Linked DNA regions of Homo sapiens: regions 2, 3, 4 and 5 are each linked to region 1. Evidence: promoter capture Hi-C in 16 types of primary human blood cells and fetal thymus (Javierre and others, 2016). All regions are on one chromosome and are shown on one strand. Each heading gives the region's core, a stretch centred on a gene start or on the middle of the fragment in contact. The rest is flanking DNA. Distances are from core to core; before and after follow the strand shown. Region 1 holds the start of BMPER (BMP binding endothelial regulator). Region 2 overlaps BBS9 (Bardet-Biedl syndrome 9). Region 3 overlaps BBS9 (Bardet-Biedl syndrome 9). Region 4 overlaps BBS9 (Bardet-Biedl syndrome 9). Region 5 overlaps BBS9 (Bardet-Biedl syndrome 9).

Region 1 (2,801 bases), core at 210-2,709:
CTTGGACAGAGGAAGTCGGTAGTCCACCGTGAGCTCAAGGACAGCTAGCTGATCGTCAGGTCCCAACACTTGCCAAGCGTCCCTCACTCCCACCTCGCGCCTTCGTACTTTGGTTACAAAAATCATCTCTCTGCGATTGCACCCCTTTTGAGTAGAGGGTGCCACTGCGTGGGGAGGAGGCGGCGATTCAGCAGGGGGATCACAGGAGCTGACTCCCCGACACCCAGTGCTGCAGAGGCGAGAGGGCGCAGCCGGGCTGAGAGAGCGACGGAGCTCCGAGCTGCAGAGGCCGCCGCGCGGCGGCCCCCGCCAGAGATGAGCGGTGGGGCGGGGGTTCCTCCCTCTTTTCGGGTGAATGAATGATTAGTCAAACACCACCTCCCCGCCCCGGTCCGCCCGAGATTGGAAGGGAGGAGTCTCGGAGCGACTGTTCATTTTTTAAGGACGAAAGGCGTTTGCCTCGGTACGTTTTTAAATCGACCTTGTGTGTGTTTCAACTTCGGTCATCCCTAGTGTCAGGACGCGCAGACAGCTAAGCACAGAACACATCTCTAAGGCCACTTGCCCCTCTGTCCGCTCAGCCCCCTGAGTTCGCTGTCGCGCCCCCGCCAGAGGGAAGCAAAGCAGGGCATGAAAAGTTGCGGGGGCCCTACTGCCCCGGGTGTGTCGCTCCTTCCCAAAGGTGGGGCACCCGGGAGCGAGCAGGGTGGTGGGGCGCCCCTGCGTCCCGTTTGCTGCTCCCTCGCTGGATTGGGGCACCCGGGCCTGAGCGCTAGTGCTGCGGCATCCCCGGGGCTCCCCCAAGAAAGGGAGGAGGAGCCGCGCTCGCCCGGACAGTGGAGACGCGCCTTCTCGGCTCTGGTCCGCGCCCTGGGGCCCTGGCCTCCCTGGAGGGGCTGGGGAACTGGAAGCTGGGCCGAGAGAGTTCCCGCTGCAGCTATCGCGCAGTCCCTCCTGCGCCCGGGCGCCCCCAGCGGGTTCCGGGAGGCGCCCGGTGAGCCCACGTCTGTTGCGGCGGAGCGAGCGCGCTCCGGGAGGGCCGAGAGCCGGCGGGGCTGGCAGGAGGTGAGGAGTGCGGGAGTGGAGGACGCTGCGGCAGCGACAGCGACAGCCCCCGAAACAGTAGCGGCAGCCCGGGCGGCGGCTGAGCGGCAGTGCGCAGTCGGCAGCGCCGCAGCTCCTCTCAGTCTATCTCCGGCTGCCGCAACACCCCTTCCTCCTGGCCCCCTCTCCGGCGCTGAGGGGCTGACTGCTAAGCCACTGCAAGCAACTCCCTCAGGAAAAAAAAAAAAAAAGCCGCATCGGAGGAGCCTGGCCGCAGGACCCCTCCTCCCCGGGCGCCCCCACACCTTGGTCTCTCCCCCCGCCCTCCCTCACACCCCCCCGCCCCCCAGCTCTCGGGCGCCCGCCTCCCTCCTTCGCGGACGGTCTCCCGACACGCCGGCTGAGAGCCCTTTTCGACTGTGAGCTGCGGCAGCTGAGCAGAGGCGGCGGCGCGGGACCTGCAGTCGCCAGGGATTCCCTCCAGGTGACGATGCTCTGGTTCTCCGGCGTCGGGGCTCTGGCTGAGCGTTACTGCCGCCGCTCGCCTGGGATTACGTGCTGCGTCTTGCTGCTACTCAATTGCTCGGGGGTCCCCATGTCTCTGGCTTCCTCCTTCTTGACAGGTAGGGGAGGGGGCGGGAGGGACCGGCCCTCCGGGACGCCGGTTTGGTACCTGGGAAAGGTGGCGCTGGCTTGCCCCGGGGATGGGAGGGTGGGGAGCGCGCACCTTGGCGCTTGCCCTGCGCTGGTCGATGGGGATGAAGCGAAGCCCCGGGAGGGCTGGGAAGGCTGGTGAAGAGGTTGCGGGCTGAGAGGCTGTTGCCTTCAATGTAGTAATAATAGACATTCTTCTATTTGAATTTGAGAAATTATTTTATTTATTTTTAATGCTTTCCTCAACTTTTATTTTAATCTTTCCCTCTGTAGAACTCAGGAAAAAAATTTGTGCAGTTTTCCGCACATCTTCCTTTCTCATCTTTGGGGTTGCAATACATCCACTGTGCTAGGAGTGCTTTTTAAAGCACTGGCTCTCAAGACCTTGAATTTAAAGAAACTATCATTTAAAAAGGGCACTAATAGCCGGATATAATAATTATATGTTTTCAGGCAGGTGAAGACCTCAGCTGCTATTCTGAAGGACATACTTTACTGACACCTGGTGCAGAAAAGAAAATATGGAGTCAATTTCTAAGAGAAGGGAAAAGGGGATTGCGTTTCAAAAAGTGATTTAAACCTAAGACAATGCGAGACAGATTCATAGAAAGGCCTGTTTATTGACTCAGTTCTGAGTTTTGGTCAATTTAAAATCTGCCCCAATTTGAGGGTTTTTTTAAATTTTATTTTTTATTTTTTTCTTTGCGTATGGGGCTGTGTGCTTAGTTGAAATATCTTCATAAAGGAGGAGTGTTATTAAAAATCCAGTGAAATACTTGGAATTGTGCTTAGACCATCTGAGAACAGATAATTTATCCCTATATCATAGTCTTTTCTTTTTTGAACCTGTTTAAATAAAATTATTGAAAATGGAGTTGGGGGCAGAGGTTTTGCTTTGGTGAATTTAATAATTTAAACCACATTAAGAATTCTGAAGTTTGGGTAGAGGTTTCAAAAAGGATTAGTGTAAAAATTTTAAATGTTGAAATCATGCTGCTAAGCTAACTTTAAATGAAACATTTTTCCCCCCTGAATTTCAGGTTCTGTTGCAAAATGTGAAAATGAAGGTGAAGTCCTCCAGATTCCATTTATCACAGACAACC
Region 2 (2,801 bases), core at 160-2,659, 620 kb before region 1:
CTTCTGTATCCCATGCATGTCCTTAAATCTCATTCCGTTAGTCTAGGACCTGACTCTCTCTTCCGCTTGAAGTCTGCAGAGTTGGTGCCAGCTCTTGGCATCCTATCATACTGTGGTCCAGAATTTAAGATATTTGGTAGGCTTCAAAGTTTGTTGATTGTGACTGTAGTCATTTCCTCATTCAATTTCCTTTTTTTGGGAGGTGGTAGTTATTGTAGTACTTTCTGCTGTTTTTGGTAAGTTTTGCTGTATTATCTTTGATTAGAATTCAAGTCTTTGTCAGTCTTTATTGTTGCTGAGGAGAAATCCATGGACAACCTGATTTTTGTTTTGTTGTAGGTAATCAGTTCTTTATGTTTGATTGCTTGTAGAATGTTTTTCATTTTTTCTGTAAATGCCACACTTGCCACCATATATCTGTATGATGATATTTTCCTTGATATTATTGGGAATGTAGTGAATTTAATCTGTTTAAACCATTTGTTTTGCTGCTGAAGAAAGGTTTCCTATGTTATATCTTTGATTATTTCTTCAGTTTTGTTTGATTTAATCTGTCCTTCAGGAAAACTAATATCTTTTGGTTGGCTACTTATTTTCTGTTCCCAATATCTGCTCTCTTTTTCCTCATAATTTTCATTTCTTTGTCATTTGTTTTCTCTGTTTTCTGTGGAAGTGTGTAAAATTTGTGTTCCATATCAGTTTTGAGAAACCACGGCACTGGTTTTGGTCTTTTCTATGTCTACAGTGGAAGATTTTTTTAGTCTGCTGAGGTACTGTCTTTCTCCCAGCCACTTCCCTCCTACCTCCTGTATCTTTGCTACTCTTAACCAGTGTAGTATATGCCAAGTTACAATTCCCATGAGGCACTAGTACCAAGTACATCTTACTTTGAAACATGTTTATAGTGTTTATTTTGGGGCTTTATCTCTGAGTATATAATATGCCATTATTAATCTCTGTTCTTTACTTGGACAATTTTATAGAATTTGCTACCTTTGTTTAGAAGTCAATAGATAGTGTAGAGGGGCCACGGGCAGTGGTAGAGGTTGGAAAGATTCAAGAGGGTAGTTATAAAATATGTTGCTTCAATCATAGGTCACTAACAGATGTCTGTACAGTTTTCTGGTTCATATAGAACTTGGAATTCTGAATCAGATGGGGCAGTGAGTTTATAATCAGAAATGTTAGGTAGAGTGACAGAACTCTTGGCTTTCATGGGTTCCTATCAAAAGAGGAGAGCTTTGGTTTAGGGCCTAATGAATCTGCTATTGCATTGTGGTATACTGTAACTTAACATGAGTTATGGGGGATGAAGGAACAGAATTATGTCATAGTTCGTATATTTTTTCTTCCTCTTACTATTGGTACCTCAGTAAACATAATTTGGACAAATTATGTCAATCTCATTGAAGGATTTTGGGGGTAAAATTAGTTGCATGATTTTTGATGGTCATCGTTACATGCATGCATATATTTCCATTGTGTCAGATAAAAGGTCTTTATGAGATGACCCCTAGATATTATATTGATGGGGCTTAAAATGGAGAAGCACAAGAATTGTGCTTATAATGTCCTTATAGCCATGTGGCTAAACCATTATTGAGGTATGGCCTGTCATTTGGTACACTACTTTCATAAACTGTAGTATGGCTATTTTGATAAGTGTTTTATTCACATGGAAAAGACCTTGTAGGAATCATTAAATAAATTAAAAAGCCATATCTTTATTTTTATTTGTCAGTCAAGGTTATAATTCTCAGAAAAATTCTCCTTAGGAAAAGTTAGATATCTTCTGCTTGGCTCATGTTTTCATGATCATTTTATTTTTAATGTAATAATGTAAAACACAGCATCCTCCATTCTTATAAACAATATCATAGTAATTACAGTTCCAGATTGTTTGATTTTGTTACATTCCATAGTAAGTCTATTTAATTTGCCTGGCAGAGATTTTAGAAACACTGTATAGCCAAGGATAAGTAGTTGCAGTTAGAATGCCAGTTGGGTTTATGATTTTCTGTTTTATAAATTAAATGTTTCAATGGTAGAATTCTACTTATTACCACATGTTTCCACTGAAAAACTTCTTTAGAAGTACTGTCATCAAGACTGTGAACATCTCTTAAAAATGAAACTCTCAATCTCCAAGAAAATAATTTATACCGGTAGGAAAAATCCTTTTGTGTTTTGGGTTCCTCATTCTGTATCCCATAATTGATATATGGGGGATTCAGTTGCAGTAGGGTTGTAGCCAAAAGGAAAGTGTTTGCTTTTCACTAGTTATGAAGGGTTTGCCTTTCACTAAGCACATACCTTCTTGGCCCTTTGGTCCCGGAGATCATTTCTATCAGGTTAGTGACTTTGCCGTTCATTTTTCTTAGAAAACACATGTGATTTAACATTTTTTTCTCCTTACTTCAGATAGTGGGTCCTCCTGATAACTGAAATTTGACTCTCTGGTTTCAAAGATAGAATGAGTTTATTTTTATGGGTTCCTGAGAATTCTGGGAAATAGCTCTATTTCCCAGAGGAAAAAGTTTGTGTTTTCTTAGTTACTTACTGTAGAATATAAAAGAGAAAAAGTGATTTATTTGTGTGTGGGGGGCAGTAACATAAAGTTTATATGCGGCTAAGCTCTTTGCAGAAGTACTTTGAACTTTAGAACTTTGGATGGACTTAGTCCTTTATTCTGTTAACTGGTGTATGGCCTGTTTTTTAGAACTAGCTTTGGAGTGCAAAAATCTGAGTTATCACCAGAATAAAAAAAGAGAAATATCTCTGTATCTCTGTTTCCCAGAGGA
Region 3 (2,801 bases), core at 139-2,638, 600 kb before region 1:
CTAACATGTTATCATTGCTAAGGTGTCTGTTCAGAAGATCTGGTTATTCACTAACGGTCTGATGTTTGGCAGCTTGTGTTTGTAGAGGTATAGGAGAGCACTATCCATCACAGTTCTGTACCTAGGATTTGTATTTCCCTACTGAACTTTGTACCATAATGATTCTCCATCTCAGTCAGTTGACAGCTTACTTAAATGATTGTGGCAGTTTTCAAGAGATGAATAGATCTCTCCTTGGAATTTTGAAAATGCAAACCCACATCAGTACTTTATGAACAGTGTTTTAAAAATAGACTTTGTACTTATTGTTCCTCAATCCTGACGTAGCTTCTATGGGGCAAATGAGAAGACTCCACCTCTCACTTATGGCCTCTTAGGAGCCACCAACTATACACATATGAAAGAAAATGAAGCATTTTTAAAGCAACGTAAAAACAAATATTATATCAATTGGTATAGATTGTATTTTTAAGTACCAGTTGCTTTTTGGCACAAGGAAAGAATATGGACTTTGGAATCAGAGTGAGCTTGGTTCATTTATTAGTTATGAAATTTTGAGCCAATCTGTCACTTCTCTGAGCCTGAGTTTTCTCATCTGCAAAATGTAGGTGACAGTAATGAGGGCTTAGATCTATGGTTCTCAGTCTTGATGACATTAGAATCACTGGAGTAGGGGGTCTTTAAATAAAACTGATGCCTGGATTGCAGGAGGATTACATAGAAGTAGTTAAAAGAAGATTCTTAGGTGATTCTAATATGCAATAGGATTGAGAATCACTAGCCTAGACTAAGGTAGTGGTGAATGAACCCAAGGTTTCCAACACTTCAAATTATAACACGTTTGAGTGAAGGATGGACCCAAGATTTCCAAGACTTCAAATTATAACACGTTTGACTGGTGAATGAACCCAAGATTTCCAAGACTTTGAATTATAACACATTTGAGCTAGAAGTAGTTTAACTGCTTCATTTTAGAAATGAGGAAACTCAAGAAGCAAGTACATAAATTGATTTGGTGACTTTTTATATAGGGGCATGAAGCAGAAAAAGAATTATTGTTATTCTTTGGAACAGAGGTGATGGGTTAATTATAGTGATATTATAAGAAATAAGAAGGTAGGAAAAGGGACCAGGTTTTTGAGAAAGAAAAGCTTGGTTTCCAGCCTGTTGAATGTATGGTGACCGAGGTACATAGATGGAAATAAATGTATATGAAAGTCCCTTTTAAACTGAAAATACTCATACTCATGTAAGTTAATATAATTCAAGTGGAAATACTTAGAAGGATCCGGCCATGTGGTATTGGAGGTTACAGACTAGGGGTTAGGCTGGCACCTGTCAGTGCAGAATTAGTAGCTAATATAGCATTGAATTCTCAGGGAGTTAGTGGAGCATGGGAAGAAGAAAGGTCTGAGTAGAATATTTAGGGATTCTCATAATTAGGAGGCAGGATGAAGAGATCTTAAAAGAAACTAGAGAAGGTAGAGAAGCAAGAGAGTTAAGTCCAGTGGCATCGGAGCCAAAAAAGGGGCACATATCACAACAAATATCTGTGTGTCTGCAAGACCTGTACTTTCCAGTGTCTGCTGGGTATCACCTTAGTGTTGAGTAGCTGTCTCAAAATCCAAGCTTGCTTGCCTTGCCTCCTCAATCACCCCACAAAATTCAGCCCTCCTCCTACAGTGTGTTTAATCTTGATAGATGGCTTCATACCCAGCTTTCCCAGGCTAACACTTAGGAATCATCTTTGATTTCTTTCTGTCATTGTTTTTCTACATTTAATCGTCATGTAGTATTATTTTTTCTATCTTTGTCTTGTTTTTTCTGTTCATTGTCATTACACTATTTCTACTAATTCCAAAGCCTACTATATAGATTTTTAAAAAAAACACACTTGTTGGAAATGTTATAATTTCTTCTATGTTGGAAGTGAAACCATGGTCATTATGTGTATAACAATTCACTCATTCTGGGCAAGAGCCAAAACACATCCAGATGGGCCATGGATAGGATGACAATATAATATTCATCCAAATTGGGATATTTCTGAGAGTAAAAGGGGATTCTGTTAATAATTTTACCAGGATAACAGGCATTAAAAGGGACTGCCTTGTGCAACCAGGATATATGGCTATACTAGCTCCCTGGTTCCCAACTGGGAGCAGTTCCCTACCCCAGGGGACATTTGGCAATGCCTGGGGACATTTTTGAATGTCATAACCGGAGCAGGAAGTGTTGTTTGTTTTTTGTATTTACTGGTAGAGGCCTGGAATGCTGCTAAACATCCTGTGATACATGAGACAGTCCCCACAAGAAAGACTTATTTGGCTTTTTGCATTTAATTAATTCAGCAAGTGCTTATTTAACCCCCTTCTCTATGCCAGCCACTGTGCTAGATTCTGGGGATATATTCATGAGCAAAGCAGTCATGGTCACTGAATTCATGGAACTTGTAGTGGGAGAGACCAAGATTAAATATATAATTGCTCAAATAAACATATCATTCCAACAGTGAGAAGTACTGTGAAGGAATAGTAGCTGGCACTTTGGGAGCATATAACAGGGGACCTGGCCTAGAATGTGAAGTGAGGGAAAGTTTTTCTGACATATTGAAATCCAATGGCTAAGCAGACCTGAACCAGACAAAGATCCTTTCTAAGAAGAGGTGAGGAAGAGTGTACCAGGTGCCAAAGGGGCATGGAAGATGACCACTTCAGATAAGTGGAAGAGGGCCAGAGTGGTAGAGGGACTTAGGGTAGGGGATGGGAGGTAGGTGATGAGAGGAGGCTGCTGAGGTGATC
Region 4 (2,801 bases), core at 203-2,702, 570 kb before region 1:
GAACACGTGAAATACCAGTAAAAAGTGTTTTTAGAGAGTCTGAAGAAATATATGTATTCTCTATTATCCAAACTCTTCCTATTTGAACTCAGAAACTTAATAGGTTCAGATAATTTTTTAGATAAATGGCTTGTATCTAAATTGTTGCCATTTGCTATCTAAATTGATGGAATAAAACTGATTTAGTAATAAACCTTTCAACTCAAAGACCAACTCAATTTAGATAAGGAGGAATACTTGTATTGGGTAATGCTAGCTTTTCTGTATGATGGACTGTTCAAAGGATGAAGATGAAATGGAAATGCCTGTTTGAATTCAAAGAACTGATGAATCTCACATTCTCTGAGAAGCCCCCCCCAGAGGTCTGCGCTTTAGCACCCTAGAGTTGCCTGAGGACTCATTGGGTTCGTAGGGCTTAGTGGGGCTAGCTAGAATGCGGAACAGACTACAGTCACAACTCAGAGGGAAGGGAAGATTTGCTCTCTTGAAATGGGCTTGTCAGAGCTGAAAGTTGGGATTTCCATGGCCACTAGATGGCTTCAGTTACCTGCAAAGAAAGGTTCAAACCCAAAGGTACTCTGGGGTTGCTTTTCATACTTTAAGAAGATCATTCCATTTTTGGACTATTTGTTTTCTGAGGGGTAGATGGCAGAAGCAATTGATAAAACTTAAAGTTTTTGAGGATTATCTAGTCTTACCTTCTCATTTTACATATAAAGAATATTTAGGAAAGCTTTCCCAAGTTGACTGAGCTCTACAGGAGCAGCATCAGAGCCAGACTCAAGTCTCCTGCGTCCTAGTCTAGTTCTTTAGCTGTTGAACCAGTGACAACAATCTATTTTTTATTCCTCTCAAGTAATATGACAGGGTTGCATGTCACTGACTATGCCTGAGTCCTGGAGATGATGTGTATTGGAATGTTGTGTTTAAGGCAGGTGGTGAAGTGGATGCTGGTGACCATCTTATGGGCAGAACTGAGCAATGGTAGTATCTACTCCCAACCCAGTTGAGCTTTTAGATTAATGAAATGACTACCTGCCATGATCCACTGTTGGGGAGTTTTAAACATTTTTGTTCATTCTAAATAATCCTAGACTCTTACATGCCTTATCTGTTATATACTTTATGTCCTTTTCTCTTCTTCAGATGAATAGCAACATTTAAACATCTTCTTTTCTCTCACAATTTTTCTATTTTTGTTTACTTTTAGAGACAAGGTCTTGCTATGTTGCCCAAGCTGGATTCAAACTCCTGGGCTTAAGTGATTCTTTGCCTCTTCAAGTAGCTGGGAGTACAGGCTTGTGCTACTGTGCCCAATTTATTATTTTTGATTAATATCTAACCTTTAGAACCAAGTAGAAAATACTTTAAAAAAAAATCAAAAGTTTCTGTAGAAAACCTAACAAACAAAAGTGAGTCAAACAAATCCATTATGTATCAACTCAAAATGGCTTATCACGATGTTGAATTTTTTTGTTTTTATGGCAAACTTAGGGAGGAAGCAAATACAGTATTCATCTCAGCTACTTTTTATGACATGTTCACAAAAACAACTTTAAAAAAATTGTGTGCTAAAATTATCCTTAATTTATATATTATGGCTAGTTTCTAGAGTAAAACAGACCTCAGGGAGCCTAAGAGAGAAGGAAGAGTGAAAGAATGGGGAATAAAAAAGATAATGAGGATGAGAAGAGTGATAGAGAAAGAGCTAGTAAATGGGACAATTGGCTGCTTCTAGCTAAAAGTGAAGAGAAAGAGAGAACAAACCAGAGGGCCACTTGAATAGGAGAGCGTGTGAAGGAAGCTGTGATGGGAGGACCTGGGAAAGAGGGCAAACATGAATCCTAAGGGTAGAGAGGGAAAAGGATGAGGAAAGACCGGGGGCACTTTTTTTTTCGCAAGACCTCCGATGGCTTCCCACATCAACTTCGTTGGTTTTCTGTCCCCTGGGTTGTCCTGTCTTCACTCCTGTGCCTCCTTCCTGGTCTTCAGCCAGCCAGCAGCCCCGCTCCATCTCTTGGTCCATTGTACCTCCAAAGTGTTGTTCACATGCTTATTACGGAAATGCCAAGTAGTAGCTGGAAGGAGGATTAAAAACAGTACTTAAAATGCTCTTAGAGCAGGATTTGCTTTGTAGTTAGGTCCCCAAAAGTGGTAGCTATTATAATAATTAAGCTTTTTTCCCGGCCTTAGTGGACCTTAACATTGGGAATACTTCTGTAAATACAAATCGTGTTTGAAACATTTGAATTGAGTCTTTGAAGTAAAACTTTAGAAATAGATATATAGTTATTTTCTTAATGGTGTGTTGATGCTGAATTGAGTAAAAATGTAGTTGGTCAAGACTAACTCTACTGAAATTTAAAATTATGTCTCATTTTCTCTTCCTTATTGTAGTGATTTAAAGGGAGTGATAGTCACTCTGAGTGATGATGGTCACTTGCAGTGTTCATACCTGGGGACAGATCCTTCTCTGTTCCAAGCTCCAAACGTTCAATCTCGAGAACTAAACTATGATGAACTTGATGTAGAAATGAAAGAACTTCAGAAAATCATCAAAGATGTTAACAAATCACAAGGTATCTCATTTGCAGCTTTTTATTATTTTAGTATTCATTATGAAATTCATATTATCTTGTAGATAGATATTATTTTGTGTATTTGTTAATTTTCTCCTCTAGGCTTAATTAAAATCATATTTGTAAAAACAGTATTGCTCTTTAGCACACAAGGTCTTTATGTCTACTTTGTATGTTATGGCTTCTGAAAACGTATTTTATTTAAGAAAGTGCTTTTGTTGT
Region 5 (2,801 bases), core at 1-2,500, 550 kb before region 1:
TTGCTGCTCAAACTATTAGTAGTACAATTTTTTTTTGCCAAATTATTTGTCAAGTCTATGAATCTACATATCTCTCTTTTATTTTAGGCATTCCGCGAGTTATCCAATGTAAATTTAGACTTCCCCTAAAGTTAATTTGCCTACCAGGTCAGCCTTCAAAAACTGCAAGCCACAAAATTACTATTGATACCAACAAATCTCCAGTCAGTCTTCTTAGTCTCTTCCCAGGTAAGACTGTTGAAATAACATGCCTGCAGCATCAAAAATGCTAAGAATTTAGAATGGAATCCTTCATCAGCAGATAATGATGGGGTAATTATCAGATAATTGTTAAGTAAGAGTATAAAAATGCCTCAAGGATTTTTCCCTCCTTTGCCTGTTCAAAGGTGAATAGCTTATATCAACAAGGTAATAAGGTATTCCTTTTAAGTTTGATTAAAATTATCATAATAATTATTTTGCTATGGTATTCAGAAATAAAAATCAAGTGTTTCTCTTTAGACTGAATTTTTTTGGCTTGGAATGTAAATATTTATTATTCATCTTTATGGTAGGTTTTTGGATATATCTGTCTTCTAAGTGTATAAATATTTATTATTTTCATTGTAGGCTTTTGTATGTGTACCTTTTAAAGTATATTCTTATGTCTCTGAAAAGTAATCTTATAAGTAGATGCTCTTTGTACTGTTTTATTCTGCTGTCTACAGCAGCTAGAGGGTGTGCATCCTGTGCTTCTGGTTGTTTAGAAGGGTTTCATATTTAATGCTTCAATATCACAGTGAACATTTGGGGTAATTTGTGATGGTATGACTTGGAGAGAAGTGTCAGTTTTTCTTTCTGAGTGGCTTAGAAACTAAAGAAGCTTTTTTGGATCAAACATCCTTAGTAACCAAGGTTTTTAGTGTGTCATGTCATTAATTTTCTTGATGGTGGGGTAGAATTGAAGAATAAAATCTTGGAATTAAATCAACCCTTTTAAATCCTTCATTAAAAATCAGCACTGTTGGCTAGGAGATGCATCTTCACCTTTGCATTAGTGGATAAGATTTAGGATACAAACAATACTTCTCACAAGGTTTAGAAATTTATGGTAAGTCAACTTTTGTGTTATTAACTACTTAAAGTGCTTAAAATTTATTTTTTATTAATTTGCAGTATTTCAAAAATTTTATTTATATATAACTCTGAAAAATCTCCAAGATTAAATATTTTACTACAATTATTCTATTCTTAAGTGTGAATTGAGTTTGGAGATATATATGTATATATTGTTAGCAAAATATTTTTTACCTTTTGGGTTCTTTCTCCCATCTCTTCTTTTACCTCCTTATTTTTTAGTCAGTTTTCTTGTAACAAACTTGGATTATGAAAAAAACAGACTCACTACCTTTTGTAACATCTTGTATAAACTTATTAGTTTCTTGGGTCTCCTATACTACCTTAGGAACATAGTTGGAAATTATATGTTGAACACCAAATTTATTGGTGGCTTTGAAAAACGTTTAAACACCTGACTTCTGAGGAAGGGTTGATCTTTACTGTAGATAAATGCAACCCAATTAGAATTGAATAAAAACACATGCCTTTGAGCAGAAAGGTAAAGTCCATAAGATACGAATTGTATAGTGTGTACTAAAGAAAGCTTAGATGACTTATCCATTTTCCTCCTGATTTTGGGCTCAATTGTTTTGATGTCATTATGCTCATCAGCATATATTTGCTTCTTACTCACTTTAGGAATGGGACACAATGACAAATTTTTAAAAATTTCTTCTGGGATCCAATATATATGATATAGAGTGGTTTTTAAAAAATTCCTGGATTTGTATTAATGTTAAACATGCTGGATGGAATCATGTGCTTGTTTAAAATAAGTATCACTTCACTCTGATAAAAGTAAGACTTAGATAAAGTTGCCATTGCAAATCTTCTGTGTCTGTTTTTTTTAACTGAAAGAAGCAAAATTAATGAGCTTTATAGAGAAGAAATAAAACAACTTTTACTCTACATGTCTTCCCATTTGTTTATTCCAGTTCTCTTTCTGTGAACAAATATAGGTATATTTAAAATAGCTTTAATTTTTCTTATTACAAAAGAAATGTGAAATTTAGAAAATGTGGATAACCAAAAGGAAAAAAGTGAATGTTACTAGTAATTCTACTATCCAGCAATACCTTTTTCTGTTTCATTACATTTTTCTAATCTTTAAATAAATATTTTTTCTAAGCATTTATCCCCAAAAAGAATTTCACTTGTCATTCTGTTTTGAGACATCTTTTTACACCATTAGATATTTTTGATATATGATTTTAATGATTACATAGTATTCTCTCATAAATCCATACTATAAAATCATTTGACCAGCATTATACTTTTAGATATTTACGTTGTTTTTAGTTTATTAATATTGTAAATATACCTGTGATGAACACTGTTGTAACAATACTTCTTCAAATTTATTATAGTTTATTTGATGAATATTTAAAAGTGGAATTGCTGGGTGAGACAGAGAATCAGAATGTTTTTAAAACTTCTGAAATATAGTGTGAAATTGACTTCCTTAAGGAATACCAGTTAACCCTAACAACAATGTTTGAATAAAGGCGTCCAGTACCCCAAACCTTGCCAATAGAGAATCTTATAAGAAAAACCTTTTAATATGCTTAATAATTATATAGAAAACATTTATTTACATATATAAATAGCTATCTGGGGTGCTTCTGGCACCCCAGAAAAGTGAATTAAGCAATAAATACCTTTTTTTTTTTTTTGAGACAGGGTCTCATTCTGTCACTGAGGTT

The links. Contacts are between HindIII fragments. The CHiCAGO score rates a contact against its expected background, and 5 or more counts as called.
Region 2: a fragment that was not itself captured here is called in contact with the fragment with the promoter of BMPER in region 1 in 1 of 17 cell types (M2 macrophages); the score reaches 6.7 in M2 macrophages.
Region 3: a contact is called between a fragment that was not itself captured here and the fragment with the promoter of BMPER in region 1, in 1 of 17 cell types (endothelial precursors). The highest score is 5.2, in endothelial precursors.
Region 4: a fragment that was not itself captured here is called in contact with the fragment with the promoter of BMPER in region 1 in 1 of 17 cell types (endothelial precursors); the score reaches 7.5 in endothelial precursors.
Region 5: a contact is called between a fragment that was not itself captured here and the fragment with the promoter of BMPER in region 1, in 1 of 17 cell types (endothelial precursors). The highest score is 5.5, in endothelial precursors.

Annotation. Positions count from the first base shown.
Region 1 is chr7:33,904,080-33,906,880 of GRCh38, forward strand. BMPER (BMP binding endothelial regulator) reads left to right here and starts at 1,460. Exons shown (of 15, transcript NM_001365308.1): 1 at 1,460-1,667; 2 at 2,739-2,801. The coding sequence starts at 1,535. The HindIII fragment of the contact is 6,002 bases long and covers 1-2,801 here.
Region 2 is chr7:33,284,089-33,286,889 of GRCh38, forward strand. The region is part of intron 9 of BBS9 (Bardet-Biedl syndrome 9); the gene reads left to right. Among named protein-coding and RNA genes, the nearest start is that of BBS9, 160 kb to the left of the region's middle. The HindIII fragment of the contact is 4,857 bases long and covers 1-2,801 here.
Region 3 is chr7:33,308,476-33,311,276 of GRCh38, forward strand. The region is part of intron 9 of BBS9 (Bardet-Biedl syndrome 9); the gene reads left to right. Among named protein-coding and RNA genes, the nearest start is that of BBS9, 180 kb to the left of the region's middle. The HindIII fragment of the contact is 478 bases long and covers 1,150-1,627 here.
Region 4 is chr7:33,334,044-33,336,844 of GRCh38, forward strand. BBS9 (Bardet-Biedl syndrome 9) reads left to right here. Exons shown (of 23, transcript NM_198428.3): 10 at 2,398-2,579. Among named protein-coding and RNA genes, the nearest start is that of BBS9, 210 kb to the left of the region's middle. The HindIII fragment of the contact is 1,442 bases long and covers 732-2,173 here.
Region 5 is chr7:33,357,768-33,360,568 of GRCh38, forward strand. It overlaps BBS9 (Bardet-Biedl syndrome 9), which reads left to right. Exons shown (of 23, transcript NM_198428.3): 16 at 88-228. Among named protein-coding and RNA genes, the nearest start is that of BBS9, 230 kb to the left of the region's middle. The HindIII fragment of the contact is 780 bases long and covers 861-1,640 here.